Linked DNA regions of Homo sapiens: region 2 is linked to region 1. The links are contacts of gene promoters, found by promoter capture Hi-C in blood cells and fetal thymus (Javierre and others, 2016). All regions are on one chromosome and are shown on one strand. Each heading gives the region's core, a stretch centred on a gene start or on the middle of the fragment in contact. The rest is flanking DNA. Distances are from core to core; before and after follow the strand shown.

The links. The method cuts DNA at HindIII sites, captures the fragments that hold promoters and counts their contacts. A CHiCAGO score of 5 or more calls a contact.
Region 2: a fragment that was not itself captured here is called in contact with the fragment with the promoter of REEP4 in region 1 in 1 of 17 cell types (naive B cells); the score reaches 5.1 in naive B cells.

Annotation. Positions count from the first base shown.
Region 1 is chr8:22,140,177-22,143,551 of GRCh38, forward strand. REEP4 (receptor accessory protein 4) reads right to left here and starts at 1,731. Exons shown (of 8, transcript NM_025232.4): 1 at 1,275-1,731; 2 at 449-521; 3 at 1-72. The coding sequence starts at 1,306. RefSeq lists enhancers at 1-112, 113-720 and silencers at 1,485-1,634, 1,645-1,774. The HindIII fragment of the contact is 1,867 bases long and covers 248-2,114 here.
Region 2 is chr8:21,935,110-21,938,147 of GRCh38, forward strand. All of the region lies in intron 1 of XPO7 (exportin 7), which reads left to right. Among named protein-coding and RNA genes, the nearest start is that of XPO7, 17 kb to the left of the region's middle. The HindIII fragment of the contact is 2,469 bases long and covers 358-2,826 here.

The sequences.
Region 1 (3,375 bases), core at 481-2,980:
GATAAAAATGTCTGTAACGATCTCTGCTGCCATGAAGAGTGCAAAAACAATCCAGTACATCATCCACCGCACCTGTGGGGTGAGCGCCCAGAGGTCAGCATGGGGCCTGCAGCACCAACTCCCAACCCAGGCCAGCCCAGCCCAGAGATTCCAGGGAGCCTGTCCGGCTGCATAGCTGCTTTCCCCCACACATGGCTGGACAGGAGCTCTGAGAAACTGCTGCTCATTCCTATGCCCGCCTCCAACAAGCTTCACCCACCAGATCTTCCACAGGCACCCCGATGGCCTGCCCTCTATCTACACCCTCTTGAACAGGGCCCATTCTCTCTCCCTCCCCACTCCACTCAGGATGTGCCACACAGCCTTGCCCCTGGAGGAGGGAGAGGCCAACTGAGACCCTCCCCACCTCACCAAGTCCTATTAAACACACCCAAACCCCCACGCTCACATATTCACGAATGTTCTTGGTCTTCACAGCCTTATAGGAAGCATAAGCTGGACACAGCATCCCAAACACCAGCCTGGAAGAGCAGCCATGGGGAGTGTGAGGGGCACCATGCCCCACTCCCACCTTGCCAAGTGGCCATTTCCCCCCACTGGGGTGCAAGGTGGCAGTACCCGCCCTGTTTTTCTCGCTTGGCTTGTACAACCCGTGCCTGAGTCAGAGCCCTGGAGGCCACCTCCCCACCCTGCTGTTTACAAACATCCCAAGCCTGCCCAGGCCTGCACCGGTGGCCCATGGGTGCATGATGGAGTGAGAGGACAGCCACTCCACGAAGTGGGTGAGAACACCAGACTGTCCCCTCCCATGGGCATGCAATCAGGCCCAGGGTCACCAGACCTGACACTGCTGGGTTGCAGATAGGGCTATGTGAGCCAGATGTTGGCATACTCAAAGGTGAGGAATAGGATGGTGAGTCATGTGACTGCTCAGATGGCAAGCAGGCACCTGGATTCTCCGCCCACAACGTGCCATATCACCTTGTGTTTGCCAAGGGGCAGCAAGGTAGGCCTGTGGCCCTCGGCTCCACGCATCTGTTTGCAGTGTGTGTGGCGTGCGGCAGGGGTCGTTCTCAGCCAACGAGGCTTGGTGGGGCGGGTAGCCTGCGGTGCCCCAGACACCGCGTGCAAGCCCACAGGTCCGTTAACCCTTGCATGGAGTGCTGGAGGGTGGAGCTCAGAAAGTTCCTCCTCCCACTAGACGTCCACAGCTTCCACCACAGGGGCGGGACGGCACCCCGGGGTAGAGGAGGTCTGAGGGCGGCCATACTCACACCACCAGGCGACAGATCATCCAGGACACCATCTTGCCGGCCTTTGGGACGTGGGGAGGACCCCAGGAAGCCGCTCAGAAGGACGTTCACTCAAGGGCTGGGACGGGGGGTGATCAGGGCAGTTGCGGGAAGCAGAGGGGCGATCCGGCTGTCCCTCGGCGGAGGCAGAGCCCGCCGCCCACGGCCTCCGACTGTGCAGTTCAGGGGACCTGGAGAATGGGGAGACCCGAGGCAAAGCGGCCCCGGCGGGGAGGAAGCCGACTTGGGAGCGGGCGCGCCCCGCGGCCGGGGCAGTTACAGCTCCCACCCGCCCTTTCTGCCGCGGAGAACCTGGCGCTCGGCCCTTGCTGCTGGTCCCGCGCTGGAGCGGGTCGCCGCGGTTCCAGCGCGCCGGGCCACCAGCACCGGCCTACAGGGCGGAGTTCGCAACTCACTTGAAAGTTGCACGGAACCGAGTGCTGCCCAACCCCAGGGCTCCGGCTTGCCACGCAGGCGCAGTGTAGCCCCGGAGGGGGCGGGGCGAGGTCAGGGAGGCGAGAGGCCGGCCCCTTAAAGGGGCGATGTGCCGCGGGACTCGCGCGTGGGGCCCACAGTGGAGCCACCTTCCCAATCGGAAAGATTAGCGTGTGGGAAGCTGTAACAAAAAAGCAGGGGGAGTGCGGGGGTCGGCACACAAAGAAAATCTGGACTCCAGAGTTTAAGCGACCCTTCACTGGCTTTTCCCGGTGTCTTTCCCTCTCGCCTCATTTTCCCCTCTGTGAACCGGGTAAAGGCATGAGATGCGGTTGGTGGGGTAGAGGGAAGGATCTCCTCTGCAGGCTCAGTCAGGAGCTGGAAGGAAGCTTGGCTGAGCGCCAGCAAGTCCGGGTCTCACACCAGTGGGTCCAGGAGGGAAAGGGGGGAGGTGTGGGGGGAGAGGGAACCTGAGGGACTTTTTGCCCCACCAGGTTTCAGGGGTTCCCTTCTCTCTGGGATGCCTTTCCAGATCCCTGACTCCGGGGCAGGCTGACCGCGATGATTTGAGGCATTCTGGGTAGAGCTCTCAGCTCCCACACTCCTTCAGCAGAAGTTTGAAATTCCACCTATTCCTCTGAGCCAAGTACACAAATAACCCTGGGCCCTTAATAGTAGTATCAACCATTGCCATTTTGTAATGCACGTTTGCACGCAAGGTCTTAGTCTTTGCAAACTTCTTTTAACCATGTAGGAAATAGGATGCTCAGTGGTGAAAAGTAACTTTCCTGGTATCACCCAGTGGTATTTATTGCTGGCTGGTGGCTACATGCTTGGCTTGATCAGTCTTCTGAGAGATCAGCAGCTGCAGGCTGAGTGGCCCTGCAGAGGGCCATGGAACCGGATAAGTTCCTCTGGGAGGGAGGCAGATGCCAGGAAGAAGGGGGAAGGCTCTAAAAAAGAAGGCAAACGTTGCTGCTTCTACTACTTGCCCTGTGAGGTTTCATTCTTTTTGACATCTTCAGCTTACTGCCTCTGTTGTTCCCTCTGAAAATAGTGTCCCCCCACCTTGCAGAGGGTGGGAGCAAAGCTGTCCGGGCATGTGGGGTGGAAACACAGGCAGTTACTGCTTTTTATTGGAGCCACAGTTAACCCCCACCAGCTATCATAAGGATGGAATAGGTAATCATGGGGCCAGGGAAAGGAGGCTTCTGGGGGATAAATAAACACACGGTGATTATATGGTCTTAATTACTGTCATCAGTTTTATTGGTATTGCTGGGTGTGAGAGCCAGCAGTGAAACCAGCCCACAGGAGAAACTTCCCCGAGGCCCCATGTCTCCCTCTCCTCTCTTAACCAACCCTCACATTTACCTGTCCCCCCTTACACACACACATTGGAGTAACCAAAAAGGCCAAGGGCTAGAGGAACTCCTAAGGAAGGCCCCAGCCACTGTCCATCTTTAGGCACAGACATGGTTCTCTAGGTGAAAAGTGTCCTGGGTCTCCCTGAAGGAGGAAAGCTGTGACTGAATAGGGGAGCAGCTGAAAGGGACATCCATGACTCAGGAGGTCACTGCACACGTGAGCCTCGGGTCCTTTGGTGCGTGCTGCAGAACTGTCCCTTCCCTGCTGGCTGCCTTCTGGG
Region 2 (3,038 bases), core at 342-2,841, 210 kb before region 1:
CAGTCACAAAGGAGCTTTCATGCTTACTGCTCTGGGTTTTAGTTCTATTAGGTTTGGGCCCTAATTGATTTTGACTACTCTATGATTAGTACAGCCAGGCATCTAAAAGGACTTTTATATTTAAATAGCAGCTGTAGATGTTTGTGGCAGGAAGTTTCCATGCTAACTAGTTTGCCATATTGCTGGAACCAAAAGTCTCAACCAAGTTTACACAGAGTTTTCAAATGCATTATTTCTTTTTATTTTTATATCAAGGTGCAGGCTTCTTTCAGGTGAACAAACTAATTGGAAATTAATTTGGACATTTTGCCTAAAGTCCTACAAATAGTGAGAGTCAGGATTAAAATTCTAGTTTTAAGCTTGATGTTCAGGTATCTTTCCAGTACTCCCTCCTTTCCATTAAATACAGATAGTCTTAACTCATATATTTGGTGTGTGCATTAGTTTTCACTGACTAGCTTGACCTTTTGCTTTTTTCTCATAGATAGGACTTTAAGACGAATTTGTTTTATTAGACCGAATTTGGAGGAAGCATTGAATTTTGAAGCAAGATCTAAATTTTAATCCATTTAGTAGTGGTGTAGTAGTGTAGTAGAAGGTTAAATAACCTTAAGAGCTTTAGTTTTCTTATATATAAAATGGTGTTGGGCTTCCTACTAATTAAATCCATGGCCCTTCTCATGCCCATGCAGAGTCCACGTGAGGGGTGGTATGGGCAAGATATCTTTCTCTCTCTCTCAATCTCTCTCTCTCTGTCTCGTCTGCAAATCCCACAAACTCAATCAGCTTTCCTCATTTTTTGGTAGTTGCCACTATTCTGTCCCTTGGGGTTTTCTTTTCTCAAAACCTTTTTGTGGAGTATTTCTCTCCAAAACAACCTTGTAGAACCCTTTTTTGCCCCAATTGCTACAGGAAAGATCGACTGGGCATAAAATAACAACAGTATTTATTGAGCTCTTACCACCTATCAGACAATTTGCTAAGTGTAAATTCCTTTAGTTTCCAGTCTTTTAATGTCTGCTAACCCTACCTCTGCTAAAATTGCCTGGGACCACTCTTGAACCTACTGAATCAGGGTTTCATTGTGGCATGTTAATTTTTTTTAAGATCAGCACCCTCAAGTCATTCCGATTAGCAGCCATTTGTGGATCACTGATAATTATTCCTTCTACCATGGCCTCTGTCTCTGTGTCCAGAAGATGCAGTCAATCAACAGAACAATTTTTGCCCTTTTGTTTCATAGATGTAATTTGAATCTCATAGTCTGCAGTCTTGCCCAGTATCCATGTCACTAGATTTCTGCCCTGTGAAGAATGTTTGATGCTTATTTTCACCAATGTTACTATATGTATTAAATGATACATACTCTAAAGATAGTCTCAAAAGATTAATCTCCCAATTTTGATGACTCTTCAAATTTCGTGAAGCCACAAAAGCAGAATTTCCTAAGTATTTTTTTGGCTCATTGGTCTATCACCTGTTGCCCACAATAAGGATTATTTGATCTTAAAAGTTGGAAACTATGTATTGTATCTTTCTCTTAGACATTTTTGGTGTATATTAGCATACTAAAGACTCTTAGGAGTTCTTCTGTTTAAAAATGATTTTACTTTGGTTAACTGGGCAGTTCCCAAACTGGAATTTTTTTATCATGTAATCCTATTAGTGGCCAGTGTGAAACACTCACTCCTTTATAGGTAGAATTTTCTGGGGGTTTTTCTCTTCTTTTTTCATTTGAAAAAGAGGAATAATATTTACTTCATATAGGGTGGTTTTGCGGGTGAAATGAGAGTTGAGGGGGAAGCATTGTTGAGTGGTTAACTAGGCGACGCAGTACTGGCCTGAGTGCCTTGGTGTTACATACTGGCCTTAGCAAGATAAAAACTCACTCTGCCATCAACCTTTAGATCACTCTTAACGGACTCAGACTTTGACTAATCTGTTAGTTCCAAAATTATACCTTATTTTTAATGCATAGCACAATAAGAGGTTAAAAGTTTCAAAACTGCTTATCTTGTGGAATTTTTGGCATGGCTAGAAAGTGTTTAGATTAACGAGTAATTTATATAATCAATGGTAGATATGACCACCATAGAGCATACACAAATTCATATTAGTCGAATAAATGAATCAGTCTTATTTGGATGTGTTAAATGTATTTCCAAAACACAGTTGAGTTCAGTCATTAAACTGTTTGCTTTTTAAAACATCTTGATCTGTTATGTTTCAGGCTGAAGCACTTTTAATGTCTTACGGTAATAGTTACCAAGAAGATTAAACCTCTTAGTACGCATGTAATAGGAAGGACTTTTAATTGATGTTTTGCTGGCAGACTCCACAGGAGCTGAGTTTAGTGTACTTTTCCGACTGTGCTTGTCTAGTTTCCTAGGATTCTGAAGTAGCTCATGGCTGTTTCCCTCTGTTCCCATCACTGCTTCTGTCACTGCAGTGTCCCCATCTACAACAGCTGCCATTTGTCAACCCAGGGAAGGTATTTCTTTTTGGAGTTAGTTCATCAATTATTAAAAGGTTCACTGAAATCATCAGAAGTTATTTATTGGTAACCCTGTTTAATTGTAGAGGATCAAGCAGAAATTAAAGTACCCTGGACCAACAAGGAAATCAGTACCCGATTCTTGGTATCTTTGTTCCTCTTTTATAAAAGGAATATATATTTGTTAAGCAGATATTATGTTCAAATTGATCATCAGTTTTTGCAAGTAGGAATGTTACGTAAATGAGAATCTTCAAAGGTTTTGGAGTAATTTATAAAGTAGATACAAATTTTGCATTAAACTCCCACTTTCATTAAACTTTTATTACTAAAGCTTCAGAGAAATAAGATATAGATAATATTTATGAGCCTTTCATATCAATTTTTTTTCAAACTTTCTGCATATATAACCCCCTTTTAAATAGCTGTTGGTGTCTCACAAGCCCTCTGGTATTGATTTAAATTATTTTGATTTTAATGTAACAGATATTAACAATAGTAAAAATAGATGTAAATTCCTCAGGGTTGTCTTCTTGTGCAACTA